Linked DNA regions of Homo sapiens: region 1 is linked to region 2. Evidence: promoter capture Hi-C in human tissues and cell types (Jung and others, 2019). All regions are on one chromosome and are shown on one strand. The core of a region is centred on a gene start or on the middle of the fragment in contact, and the rest is flanking DNA. Distances in the headings are between cores, read along the strand shown.

The links. Contacts are between HindIII fragments. The study calls those that stand out against the background at their distance.
Region 1: a contact is called between a fragment that was not itself captured here and the fragment with the promoter of NHLRC1 in region 2, in 3 of the 25 tissues and cell types used here (IMR-90 fibroblasts, aorta and small bowel).

What each region holds. Positions count from the first base shown.
Region 1 is chr6:18,017,220-18,023,988 of GRCh38, forward strand. No RefSeq gene overlaps it. Among named protein-coding and RNA genes, the nearest start is that of KIF13A, 33 kb to the left of the region's middle. RefSeq lists an enhancer at 5,041-5,994. The HindIII fragment of the contact is 4,966 bases long and covers 1,963-6,769 here.
Region 2 is chr6:18,121,427-18,129,004 of GRCh38, forward strand. NHLRC1 (NHL repeat containing E3 ubiquitin protein ligase 1) reads right to left here and starts at 1,251. Exons shown (of 1, transcript NM_198586.3): 1 at 1-1,251. The coding sequence starts at 1,180. TPMT (thiopurine S-methyltransferase) reads right to left here. Exons shown (of 9, transcript NM_000367.5): 9 at 6,885-7,578. The HindIII fragment of the contact is 9,942 bases long and covers 210-7,578 here.

The DNA of each region.
Region 1 (6,769 bases), core at 3,196-5,695, 100 kb before region 2:
TTTATTTATTTATTTATTGAGACGGAGTTTCGCTCTTGTCCAGACTGGAGTGTAATGGCACGATCTCGGCTCACTGCAACTTCTGCCTCCCAGGTTCAAGCAATTCTCCTGCCTCAGCCTCCCAAGTAGCTGGGATTACAGACGTGTGCCACCACATCTGGCTAATTTTGTGTAGTTTTAGTAGCGACGGAATTTCACCATGTTTGCCAGGGTGGTCTTAAACCCCTAGCCTCCCTATGTTGCACAGGCTGGTCTCAAACTCCTGGCTTCAAACGATCCTCCCATCTCAGCCTCCCAAAGTGCTGGGATTGCAGGTGTGAGCCATGGCACCCCGCCTCCATAAATAATTTTTAAATAAATAGAATGCGTTTGGGAAAAGCTGCATACCATATTTTCCTCTTGAAGAGCAACAATGCACATTAGCAAATTGTGTCCTGTAACAGACCAGTAGTAAAGTTTTGGTTTTTTTTTTGAGACGGAGTTTTGCTCTTGTTGCCCAGGCTGGAGAGCAATGGCAGGATCTCGGCTCACTACAACCTCCGCCTCCCAGGTTCAAGCAATTCTCCTGTCTCAGCCTCCTGAGTGGCTGGAATTACAGGCGCCCACCACCACACCCAGCTAATTTCTGTATTTTTGGTAGAGACAGGATTTCATCATATTGGTCAGGCTGATCTTCAGCTCCTGACCTCAGGTGATCCACCCGCCTTGGCCTCCCAAAGTGCTGGGATTACAGGCATGAGCCGCTGCACCCAGCCAAGAAAGTTTTTTGGTTTTTTTTTTCTTTTGTTTTTTGAGACAGATTCTCTGTCACCCAAGCTTGAGTGCAGTGGCATGATCTTTGCTCATTGCACCTTCCGCCTCCCTGGTTCAAGCAATTCTCATGCCTCAGCCTTCCTAGTAGTTGGGATTAGAGGCCCCTGCCACCGTGCCTGGCTAATTTTTGTATTTTATGTAGAGACAGTTTCACCATGTTAGCCAGGCTGGTCTCGAACTCCTGACCTCAGGCGATCTGCCTGCCTGGGCCTCTCAAGAGTGTTGGGATTACAGGTGTAAGCCTTGGCGCCAAGCCTGAAAGTTTAAACTTTCATTCATCCAACATTTCCTATGCAGTATGTCCACATATATCTTTGTGTAACAGTGGTGCACATCCTTTAGAACTAATGCTATGCAGAACAGTTTGGGAAATGGTAACCTGCTCCATGCACTCTCCTTATTTGGCTGGTGAGTCACCAAAAAAAAAAAGCAAAATAGGAATTTTAAACCCGACCTAACTACAGTGAAACTCAGAAATATACAAATTGCAATGACCTTAAACCCCAAGAAAAACAAGGCCTAAAATTATAGTAAATGCTTCGAGGGGCAAATTGTCACCTGGTTTAGATGGAAACAGAGATCTGAGCAGCCTGCTGTTTTTCAACATTATCTGAGCTGTCTCCTGGTTAGAGAAAAAGCTATTTCCAACTGGACGCCCTCTGGTCATCATTTACACTTCTTTGGTTTGACAAACAAAAGAATGCTTACTTCAGTCTTATTGGCCGCTAATCAGCCATTTGCTAAGAAAACATCAGGTTTTTAAACACCCATTTATTTATTCGTTTATTTCAGACACACAACCTTGCTGTATTGCTCAAACTAGATTTGCACTCCTGGAATCCAGTAGATCCTTCTACATCCAGAATTGGTGGGTTCTTGGTCTGACTTAAAGAATGAAGCCACAGACCCTCACAGTGAGTGTTACGGTTCACTAAAAGCAGTATGTCTGGGCGTTCCTTTATTTTTTTCTGATGTTCATCACGTGTTCAGAATTGTTTTCTATTAGTGGGTTCCCAGTTTCACCAGCTCAGGAGTGAAAATGCAGACCTTCACGGCGAGTATTACAACCCATACACACAAGGCTGACCCAAACAATGAACAGCAGCAAGACTTACTATAAAGAACCAAAAAAAAAAAAAAAATTTAAAAAACACCCACAAGGGAGAACAAACCTCGACAAGTTACCACAGCTAGTTTGGGCAGCCTGCTTTTATTCTCTTATCTGGCCCCACCCACATTCTGCTGATTGGTCCACTTTATAGAGAGCTGATTGGTCTGTTTTACAGAGCGCTGATTAGCCCGTTTTGACAGGGTGCTGATTAGTGTGTTTACAATCTCTGAGCTAGACACAAAAATTCTCCAAGTCCCCACAGAGCACTGATTGGTGCATTTACAAACCTTGAGCTAGACACAGGGTGCCGATTGGTGTGTTTACAAACCTTGAGCTAGATACAGAGTGCTGATTGGTGTGTTTACAAACATTGAGCTAGATACAGAATGCTAATTAGTGTATTTACAATCCCTTAGCTAGACAAAGATTCTCCAACTCCCCACCAGCCTCAGGACCCCAGCTGGCTTCAACTACTGGATCCCGCACCGGGGCCGCAGGTGCAGCTGCCCGGCAGTCCCGCGCAGTGTGCCCACACTCCTCAGCCCTTGGGCGGTCGATAGGACCGGGCGCTATGGAGCAGAGGGCGGCGATTGTCGGGGAGGATCGAAGGCGCAGGAGCCCACGGCGGCGGGGGGGAGGCTCGGACATGGCAGGCTGCAGGTCCCGAGCCCTGCCCCGCAGGGAGGCGGTTGAGGCCCGGCCAAAATTCGAGGCAGCGCCGGCGGGCCGGCACTGCTGAGCGGTGACAGCGTGCTGGCAGCTTTCTCAGCCCTTGCTCTCCGTGCCTCCTCTGCCTCAGCGCCATTCTGGTAGCGCTGGAGAAGCCCTTCTCTGGGCTGGCCGAGGCGGGAGCCGGCTCCCTTGGCTTCAAAGGAGGTGTAGAGGGGGACGCATGGGCGGGAACCAGGGCTGCGCGCGGCGCTTGCGGGCCAACTAGAGTTCCGCGTGGGTTTGGCAGGCCCCGCAGTTGGAGCGGCCTGGCCGGCTCTGCCGGCCCCGGGCAGAGGGGCTTAGCACCCGGACCAACAGCTGCGGAGTGTGCGCCGGGTCCCCCAGCAGTGCTGGCCCACTAGTGCTGCGCTCGATTTTTTGCCAAGCGTTAGCTGCCTCGCCGCAGGACAGTGCTCGGGACCTGCAGCCCGCCATATAGTCCACCCCTGGCGGTGGGCTCCTGCGCGGCCTAAGCTTCTCCGACGGGCGCCGCCCCTATGCTTCACGGCGCCCAGTCCCATCAAACGCCCAAACACTGAGAAGTGTAGGCGTCCGGCGCGGGGTTGACAGGCAGCTCCACCTGCAGCCCTGATAAGAGATCCACTAGGTGAGACTAGCTGGGCTCACTGAGTCTAGTGGGGGCTTAGAAAAAACCTTTATGTCTAGCTAAGGGATTGTAAATACACCAATCAGCATTCTGTGTCTAGCGCAAGGTTTGTAAACACACCAATCAGCACCCTGTGTCTAGCTCAGGGTTTGTAAATACACCAATGGACACTCTGTATCTAGCTAATCTAGTGGGGATGTGGAAAACTTTTGTGTCTAGCTCAGGAATTGTAAACACACCAATCAGCACCCTGTCAAAACGGACCAATCAGCTCTCTGTAAAACAGACCAATTGGCGCTCTGTAAAATGGACCAATCAGCAGGATGTGGGTGGGGCCAGGTAAGAGAATAAAAGCAGGCTGCTAGAACTAGTAGTAGTAAATAATGAAAACGTTTAGTATCTTGGTATGTGTAGGATTAAGTGCTTTGGATGTTTGAGTTTTGTTTGCTGTGGTTTTATGGATTGTAATGCCACGAAGATCTGTAGCTTTAATGTTTTTAGTTAGTGATAAAAGTGTGAATCCGCCAAGAGAAATAAGTAAGTGCTGATGTGTTGGTTTGAGAGCTGTAATATTCACTGCTAAGGTCTGTAATTTCTCTCCTGAGCCAGCAAGATAGTAAACCCGCCAGAAAGAAAAAACTTCAGAGACACTACTTTCTACAACTGTAATGCTCACTGTGAGGGTCTGCAGTTTCATTTTTGTAAGTCAGACCAAAAACCTGATTGTGGCCGTTGGGGAACTCTGCGTCCTTTGTAGCTACTGGTGTGAGTGTAAATTTTCTGTTGAGGGCCAGCAGTGTTTGTTAACTCTCCGGGAGTGCGGGGTGGCAGAGCCCAGGCCTGCACACCCGGAACTCGAGCTGGTTTGCAAGGGCTGCTGCAGGCCTGATTCTTGCCTGCGCCTCTCCATACGTGCCTGCAAGCTGAGGGAGTCGGCTTGGGCCTCAGTTATTCCAGAAGAGCTCCCACCGTGCAGCAGCGAGCTGAAAAGCGACTCAAGGAGGGCCAGGGTGGGTGCCGAGGCCTAGAAGGCCCCGTGAGTGAGTGAGAGGGCTGAGGGTTGTTAGCGCACTGTCATTTCTCAGTTTCCTGAATGGCTGAGACTGCAAGTGTGTGCTACCACACGTTTGGCAACATCAGTTTTTCTTTTTGAGACAGGCCCTTATTCTTGCCTAGGCTGGAGTAGAATAGCATAATTATGACTCACTGCAATCTTCGCCTACTGAACTCATAAGCCTAGCATCCCAGCCTCCTGAGTAACTGGGACTACAGGTGTGCACCACCCTGGCTGGCTAACTTTTTTTGTATTTTTTGTAGAGATGAGGTTTTGCCGTGTTGCCCAGGCTGGTGTCAAACACCTGGTCTCAAGTAATCCACCTGTCTCCATCTCCCAACGTGCTGGGATTACAGGCGTAAGGTACCACACCCAGCCCCAGTGTTTAATTGTAGAACTGAGATAAAATCTTACCTACGTTGCTATCAAAGGAATTACTGTGAAACATTTGAAGCTTAAGCCTCAGGTCCTTCATTTAGATGTGCCTTTTTTATAGCTTTTTGCAAATTCTGTACGCTAAGTAATACTTGGCACAGTAAACTTAAGTTTCTTAATGAGCACCCCGAGTGTATAAACTCCAGACCTCATGCAATTTGGATCCCGTACTAATTGGGCGTGGTAAGTAACCAGACTGGAAGCTCCGTGAGGGCAAGAGTCCCCCAAGCCCAGCATTCAGAACCTGGCTGACAAGTGATAGGAGTTTAATAAACGTTTGTTGAGGACTGAGTGCTTGAAGATCATGTACATTTAATAAGGATCTGGAAAATAGTCATTATTAAGTGGCATTTTTTTGTATAAGGTGTCAGGCAGAAAGGAAAAACGCACTCAAAGATGTTTACATGCAGAAATATGCAAATGTGATTGGTTTCGAATCCACCCACAATACCTACGAAGAGTTTTCAACATCATAGGAACAAATTGCAGGTTTAGAAGTGTAAACTTTTCCCTTTGCTCTAAAATGAATTTGCTTTTTCCCACTTACTGTCATCTAGTAGAGACCATCTTTGGAAGACAGCTGTGGCAGTTTGCCCTTGTCTGCAAGAGCTTGCCAAAGGGGACACTGATGCAACATTAATCATATTCCAAGCTCCATACAGTGCAGGTGAAGTCATTAGAACAGCAAACACCCTGTCTGTTCCTTAAGAGACAGATGATTTTCATTCGGTGATAACTGGTATTTTTTGTGATAATGATGGGGAAGGTGAGGGCTTCACGAAAGCCGGTCAGCAATCAGTTGGGAACACAGGAACAGTGGTGTGTGTGTGCGCATGCACTCACATGGTCTTTGTTATAGCTGCCTCTGTAAATGGAGGGAAAAAAAACAAAAAAACAAAACAAAACAAAAAAACCAGCTGAATCCCCTGGGAATAGCAATTAACTGCAGCTTCAGTGCCTGAGCTAGTAATACAGTGAGCACGAAGACATTGCTGGGCTAGAAAGGTTTTGCTGTTCTTTCCTCCTCCGCTCCTCCTACCTTCTCTGGAATCCTTCCTCGAAGGCGCTCACCCTGCTCATTATCATAAAGAATGGCTGGAATGTGAGGATGACTGGGACTCACCCTGCCGTTCCATTGTCTGAATCTTAAACACTGCTCTAGTCTAGTCAAAGGAAATGAAAACAGAGGGACAACCCAGCTTATAAACACTGGGTACAAGATGTCAGTGCCATCGCTGCTCCCTGGAACACTGCTGTTTGTCACACAGAGCCCCATCTGTTTAAAGCAGAGGAATGCTCTTTGCTTGAAGAGGAAAGGATGAATTGATAGCAATATTCCCTAGCTTTTTCATTAGAGGGTTTGAAAAATAGCCTTTCCGAAGAATGACACCTTTATGTATAATCCAATTGAGCTATGAATTTAAGAACATTACTGGGCTGAGGTTTTCATCTGCTTTGATCAAGCCTAAGGTATGGCAGGCCTCCAAACCTTTCCTTTGAGAATGCTGCTGTTAATGAATTTCGTAAATCTGACAAGTTTTTGCTGCCCCCTCAAAAAAGTATTTGGCTTAATTTTATGGTGAGCAGAATTCAAAAGGCAAAAGGAAGGAAAATAACAGCTTTATTTTTTGAGACAGGGTCTCGTGCTGTTAGCCAGTCTGAAGTGCAGTGGCGCAGTCTCAGTTCACTGAAGCCTCCACCTTCTGGGCTCAAGCGATCCTCTTCCCTCAGAATAGCTGGGACTACAGGTGCACCCCATCAAGCCTGGCTAATTTTTGTGTTTTCAGTAGAGATGGTTTCACCACGTAGCCAGGCTGGTTTTGAACTCCTGACTTCAAGTGATCCGCCCTCCTCGGCCTCCTAAGGATTGAGGAAAAATAATTCAAGTATGGTTTGCAAATTCCTTTATACAATATGCTGATTTGCTGGCACCAGCTGAATAGCTGCAACATTTTGGGTACCACTCAGGAGTGGTCATAGAAGAGAGTGGGGAAGGGAACAAACAAAATAACCCAGAGAAAATAAAACTATACTTGAA
Region 2 (7,578 bases), core at 1-2,500:
AGTCAACTTTATAGACTTTTATAGAATGAGATGCTGTGTCCAGCACAAGAAGAGAATTCTCCTTGGTGAAGGTAAGAGCCACAGGATGCGAAAGACCATGAGTGACCATGGGCTTCGGTACTGGAAACTCCTCAGGTTTTCCTAAGCAAAGGATAGCTGGACCAGATGTATCTGCAACAATCACATTTCCCTGGTGATCAAAGGTCACAGCGGAGGCAGTTATTTTGGAGGGAAAGTAGAGGCTCAGCCCAAAGGTATCCACTTGGCCGACAAGCTGCATACTTGAGCTAAACACTTTCACCCTGGTGCTGCAAACCCCAGTCCCCAGGGCCAGGGGGTGCTCCAGGACCGCAATGGCCCCGGTGAGCCAAGACACTGCCACCCCTCGGGGATTGCACAGATGAGCTTGCAACCTTTCAGTTCTCCGAAGGACCCCTTCCGCGAAGTCGACGTCCAGGAGGTGCAGGGACCCTGCCTCCGCATCAGTTACCACAATCCCATTCTGAGGGGTGGTCTCCACACCCCAAGGTAAGGAGAATTGGCCTCCAATGACAAGCTTGATCTGGCCAAAAAAATCAAACACTTTGATGGAGCGATCGCCGGCGTCAGTGACAACCACATGGCAGTCGTTGGTGATGGTGACATCCACAGGGTACCTAATGTCTTGGGCAGCGTCCCCCTTCTCTCCAAACTGATGCGCGCATCCTCCCCCTGAGTCAAAAATCTTGACACGCCTCCTGCCGTCGTGCACCACCACGACACGCCCCGTCTTGGGACAAAGCGCCAGTCCGGTGGGGTTGACCAGGGTCCCCCAGCCGCCGAAGGTGTGGTGGCAGGTGAGGGCTCCGGGGGCGCTGGGGGCGGCGCGATGGGCGGCCGGGGACTGGCGAAGCGCTGAGCCCAGGAGCTCTATGAGGTGCAGCACCGGCAGGCAGTCGCTGGTGTCGCAGCCCCGGCAAGCTCGCCTGCAGAATGGGCACTCGAGGGCCAGAGTGCGCGGGTGCGCCAGGGCGGCCACGCAGGCCAGGCAGACCACGTGGCCGCAGGACAGGTTGCGCGGGCGCCGCTGCTGCCGGTGGCCAAACTTCTCAAAGCACACCTTGCACTCGAGCAGGCTGATCTCCGCCTCGCGCATGAGCTCATGCAGCGCTGGCCCGCTCTCCGAGGCTTCGGCCGCCATGGCGCGTCCTGTGCACTCCCGCCGCGCCGCCTGGCCGTGCCCCAGCGACGCTCTCGGTCACGGTCACAGTCATGGTCACGGGGTGGGACGTGCGCCCTGACGTCGAGCGCCGCGGGCCTCTGCACTGCGATCTGCTGCCCCTTGGTGGGCACGCGCGGCACTGTTTCCTGAGGGCCTGATGGTGGACGTTTGCAAGACAAATCCACATGCGCGTTGTGTAGACCTGTAATCGTCACAGCAGTCATGGATGGATTGTGTACACTTTCAGATGAGGAAACACACCTATTGAGGACAACAGGATTGCTCCCTGTCACCCAGCCTGTAAGCGGCAAAACAAGAACTAGAACCCAATCTTCCAGCCCGGGTGCCTAGCAGTGTCTCCAATCCGCAGCGCCGGGTGCTACGGCTGTCCGGGCATAAAACATGGTCCCTTAGCTCATGATGCTTATGATCTGAACCGGAAAACACGAACACACTAGAGAAGATAAACTCCAAGGGAGGTGAGGCAGATGTGTACATTTCTTTTGTGTCTTCTGTCATACTCATAGTTAAGTCAATGTTAGATGAATACATACTTGTAAAATGAATTTGTGCATGAATGAATGTTATAGAACAACAACAACAACAAAAAAAAATCAACGAGGTGAATGAGTGTCAGATGGGGCAACCATGCTGGAAGTGTCTTGCAGAGTAATTAATATGAAATAAGAAAGCTGTTAGTTAATAATAATTACCATAGAACTTCATTTTTTTGTTTTTTAAGACAAAGTCTCACTCTGTCACCCAGGCTGGAGTGCAGGGGCACGATCACAGCTCACTGCAGCCTCCATCTCCCAGGCTCAAGCAATCCTCCCACTTCAGTAGCTGGGACTACAGGCATGCACCATCACACTAGGCTAATTTTTTAATTTTTTTGTAGAGAGGAGGTCTCACTATGTTGCCTAGGCTGGTCTTGAACTTGTGAAAATTGTTCACATTCCTCCCCACCCCTTGGCCTCCCAAAGTGCTGGTGTGAGCCACTGTGCCCAGCCTATGGAATTCACATATGCCTGCCCCATTGTGTTAGGTTGGTGAAAAGGATTCGCAGTGTTTGCCATCACTTTTAATGGCAAAACCGTGATTACTTTTGCAGCAAATTAATAAATAATTTACATAGATTATCTTGTTTAAACCTCATAGCAATCCTACAAAAATATGTTATTTTTATTGTCTTTTTTTCTGATAGAATTCATAGAAATCAAATATCTTGCCCAGGGTCACATGGCTAGGAAGTGGCTGGCCTGGAATTTGAAGCCAGGCAGTTTGACTTCAGAGTTACCTATTTTAGTCATTTTCAAACTTCTTTGCACATGGTAAACACCTGGGTCGCACCCGAAAAGTTTAATTGGCCCATGGTGTGGTCTGGACAGCTGGGATTTATAAAAGCTCCCCAGGTGATTATAATGTACAGCCAAGTTTGAGAAACACTGCATTATAATAATTCCCTCAAATGACACTAAGTTCAGTTTTTCCAATCTCAGTTAAGACCAAAAACAAAGAGAATTTGCCATATGTTGGAAAATCTTCAAACAAGGGATAGCATAATCTGTGTGAAGAATCCATTGTGGTATTATAATCTCTCATTTTTCTTTTTCTTTCTTTTTTTTTTTTTTCTTTTTGAGACAGAGTCTTGCTCTGTCACCAGGCTGGAGTGCAGTGGCGCGATCTCGGCTCACTGCAGCCTCCACCTCCTGGGTTCAGGCGGTTCTCCCACCTCAGCCTCCTGAGTAGCTGGGATTACAGGCACCCGTGACCATGCCTGGCTAAGTTTTGTATTTTTAGTAGAGATGAGGTTTCACCATGTTGGCCAGGCTGGTCTCAAACTTCTGACCTTTCGCGTCAGCCTCCCAAAGTGCTAGGATTACAGGCATGAGCCACCGTGCCTGGCCCTAAACTCTTATTTTTAAGGGGTTCTCCCTCAAATGTCTTATGTGAACATTGTGCTTAACAAAACCTTGTATTAGAGAATTTCTTTTCCTTTAGAGATCATAATCATGAACATTCACCTTCTGATTTGCTAGATTTCTGAGAAAACACAATATTTTATCCCCTGTTGAGGCCCCTGGAAAGAGCTTTAATGTAAGACAAGAAAGAACATTTTCTAATCAAATGTCATTTGACTCAAAGATTGCGTACTGGGACACAATAACCAACTTAATAATTTCTGACTACATTTCCATCCCAAATAAACAACCAACTAAAATCACATTATTTATGCAATCACACCATTGCATAATTGATTAATAACAAATATGTCTTGAATCTCACTCTGACATTTGGCATTTCCTATGACTATCATTTCCTCCTCCATGGCTGGGCCTCCATGGATTTACCCTGTGCTTCCCTCCGATATTCCTTCTATAGAGGGTCCTGGACTAGCATGCCCATCTTTTCCTGCTTCCACCTAGAACAAGCCCTGAGAGTTGTGGGGGCAAAGGGCTTGAAGAGCAGAACGTCTAGTTTCCAAAGTGGTCAATGGCTGCCCTATGAAAAAGTACCATACTATAGTGGAAGGAGAGTGGGGACCCAGCTCAGGATGGTTCCAGCAGAGAAGAGAGCACAGGGGGAGCATGAGTTAGGGGGAGTCAGTGCTTAGACAGGTGGGCTCCTGGTTGTGCAGGTGGGGCAAATGTGCCAGACACATGCAGTTTAGAAGGAATCCCAGAACAAGTTTAATGATCCAATTACAACTCAGACTACCTGACAATGATGTAAGGGAAAGGAAGATGAACAAGCCACACAGAATGGGCTTTGCTTCCAGCCTTGCCCTCCTCCCAGGGGCGTCTCTGACCACCACTCTAATTTTTAAGCTCCATGTTCTTGGCATCTCAGGGGTGAGGGATGTGGTGGCAAGAGGAAGAATGGCTGTTTTTGAATTTTTTGAGTAAGTCCATACAAAAATGAGTGGAGATGTATGTTTGGAAATGGGGATCTAGAGATTTGAGTGCATCTCAAGTTCAATGCAATTGAGTGTTCCTCAGGGTGCCACCTTCAGTCTTTTTCTCTTAGCTTCCTACCTGTTTCCCTGAGCAATGCCATCTTCACTTCCTCGTGGTTTAAATGACCAGTTATAAGCTGACAGCTCCCTGCCTGTACCCCTAAGACAGCCATACCATATGAAGTTCAATGTTCAGTCCCTACCCCTACAACCTGTGATGCCTGAGAAAAGGATTATCTTCAATAATCAATAAACCTTTATCTGCTAGCACACCCAATAGTACTTAAATTGCTGAATGAATGCTGACTCTAATAGCAGGAGAAAGACTAAATAATAATTGTACTGCCACATTACAACATTATACAGCTATTTAAAAATCTTGCTTTTGAAAAATATTTAGTGACACTGTTACCAGTAGAAGGTTTGACTACAAGTTGTCCAGGTTCTTGGCTTTTTGAACAAAGAATTGGACAAAATGCACAGCAAAGCAGAGAAAGAATGAAGTAACAAAAGCAGAGATTTATTGAAAATGAAAGTGCTCCACAGGGTGGGACCTGGCTGAGCAGTGGCTCAAGGGCCCTGGTTACAGAATCTTCTGGGGTCCAAATACTGCCTAGAGGTTTCCCACTGGCCACTTGGTATTCATCCCATGCAAATAAAGTAGTGGCCCGCAATCAGTCTGATTGGTTGCTTTTGCTTGCTGCAACCAATGAGAGGCCGAAGTGAAGTTACAAAAGTTACACTCCTATGCAAACGTTTGATTGGTTGCAGATGTTTCTGCCACGCAGAAAAGGCTAGGGGCGGTGGGGTGGTGGAGGTTACAAAGGGAGTAGCCTCTGGTCCTTTTGTTACTTAGGCATGGAAAGTTGAGGTTTTCCTTTCAATTTAGTTCTAGGAAGTCAGCATGAATCAGCCTTAGGTTCCCTGCCTCAAGACCCTATTCTCCTGCCTCAACTCCAGGAAGGGTGAATGAAATAGAAAGAAAGATAGTGGAGATACAATACTGTATCGTAATGTGATCACAACAACCTTGTGAAAACATTCACATGTATGAGCAGACAAAAAAGATGAGAAGAAAATACATCACCATCATAGCAGTAATTATCTCCAGTGATAGGACTTGATTGCTTTTCTTTTTCTTTTTAGACTTCCCAAATTTTCAATGCATAAAGGATTATTTGTCATATTTAAATATAAATAACTTAATATTTTATGATATATTTCATTTCTAAATATCTGCCTCGATTATCCTCCTGTTGTCGAAAGTTAACACCAATAGTGAAATAAATTTCTATTAATACCCACTGTTCAGGAATCACAGATTTTCAAGCATATTTTCAGCTCACAAATTACAGCTACACATAAGTAATAAATCTGGGACATGACTATTTTCTGCAAATCGGAATGACTATGCTTAAGGCACATAAATAGAATTCTGTCCAATTCCCACCAGCCACTGGTGAATTTGTCATATAATGTTTTATAAGGCAAAAAGCACATCACATAAGAAGTGATTGGAAAGTCAGAGCTGTAGGGATTAAAGATGATAATTTTTAATTTTAATTTTGTTGTTGTTGTTTTTGTTTTGAGACAGTTTTGCTCGTTGCCCAGGCTGGAGTGCAATGGCTTGATCTCGGCTCACCACAACCTCCACCTCCTGGGTTCAAGCAATTCTCCTGACTCAGCCTCCCGAGTAGCTGGGATTACAGACATGTGCCAACCATGCCCGGCTAATTTTTTGTATTTTTAGTAAAGACAGGGTTTCACCGTGTTGGCCAGGCTGGTCTCGAATGCCCGACCTCAGGTGATCCGCCCACCTCGGCCTCCCAGAGTGCTGGGGTTACAGGCATGAGCCACTGTGCCCGGCCAATAACTGATTTTTTAAAAAGCACTCAGTAGAAATCTTTCTCTGAAACACCTTTCAGAAAGAGTAGGTGTAGGCTGAGCAGCTCTTTGGGAGGCTGAGGTGGGGGGATCACTTGAGGCCAGGAGTTTGAGATCGTGCTGGGCAACATAGTGAGACCTTGTCTCTACTAAAAATAAAAAAAAAAATTAGCTGGGTGTGGTGGCACACACCTGCAGTCCTGTCTACTCAGGAGGCTGAGGCAGAAGGATTGCTTAAGCCTAGGAAATTGAGGCCGCAGTGAGCTATAATCACACCACCGTACTCCAGCCTGGGCGACAGAGTGAGACCCTGTCTCAAAATAAAAAAAAAAAATAAGGAGTAGGTGCGACATAAACATATACATGTATACACAAACACACATTGAAATTGCTCCCTTGTATTAAAATAAAACAATGACAGGTATGTACTACAGTTGCGACTTGGTAAATTGCTTGAACTAATATCTCCATGGCTTAGATTTGTATTTGTCACTTCATGCTGCCAATGAATCCCGTCAGCTGGGAGCTCTCTCATAGGTACATCTTTTGGGCCACCTTCTGTGGTCCCTAAACCATTCTTTATGGAGCCAAATCTCTGACTTCCCAGTGATAGCTGTTTAAGCTTTGGTTATATTTCTTTGTATTTTTCTTTCCACATTCACCCAAATAGATTAATTATTACGTACCTTTCTTACTTTGTCCTGTCTGCTAGTGATAACACTGTCTATACTGGAGCATTCATGCCTGCTTCATAGGCAGGGCAAGGCATTTATAAACCACTGTGTGCAGGGCACAGAGGCTCAGATAATCTGTTACTTAAATAATAAAATGAAACAAGAAGCATTTTTGGAAAATCCTGAAAACAATTTAATTGCTCTAAAATAATTTACATGTGGTATATCTTCCATCTTGAGATTTTAGGAAGTCAGTATTCCCCAGTGAAGACACATATTACATAAATGATCAACTACCTAAGGATATCTCATTTGTATTTAAGATTCTTTGGGCACAACTGCAAGCGGAAAGGACTCTATCCCATGGACACAGGGTGTTTCTCCCCACCCTGGGCAGCTGGGCTTCAGGGAGGATGAAAATGGACCCAGGACGCAGGTGGCCTCTCTTTGGTTCTCATCTCTTTCTGCAGATCAGCGTTCTGTTTCTCAGATCCATGTGCTGGAATGTGGCTGCCCCACAGCTCCCAGGCGTACACAGATTCCCCTTTCAGCAGTCAACTTGCCTTTCTTTTTTTTCTTTTCTTTTTCTTTCTTTTGAGACAGAGTCTTGCTCTGTTGCCCAGGCTTGCGTGCAGTGGCATGATCTCAGCTCACTGCAACCTCCGCCTCCTAGGTTCAAGTGATTCTCCTGCCTCAGCCTCCCAAGTAGCTGGGATTACAGGCACGTGCCACCACGCCTGGCTAATTTTTTTGTATTTTTAGTAGAGACGGGGTTGCTTTTCTATTCCCAAGTCCAAAAGCCTATGAAGAGGGCCAGCGCAATGGCTCATACCTGTAATCCTAGCACTTTGGGTGGCCAAGAC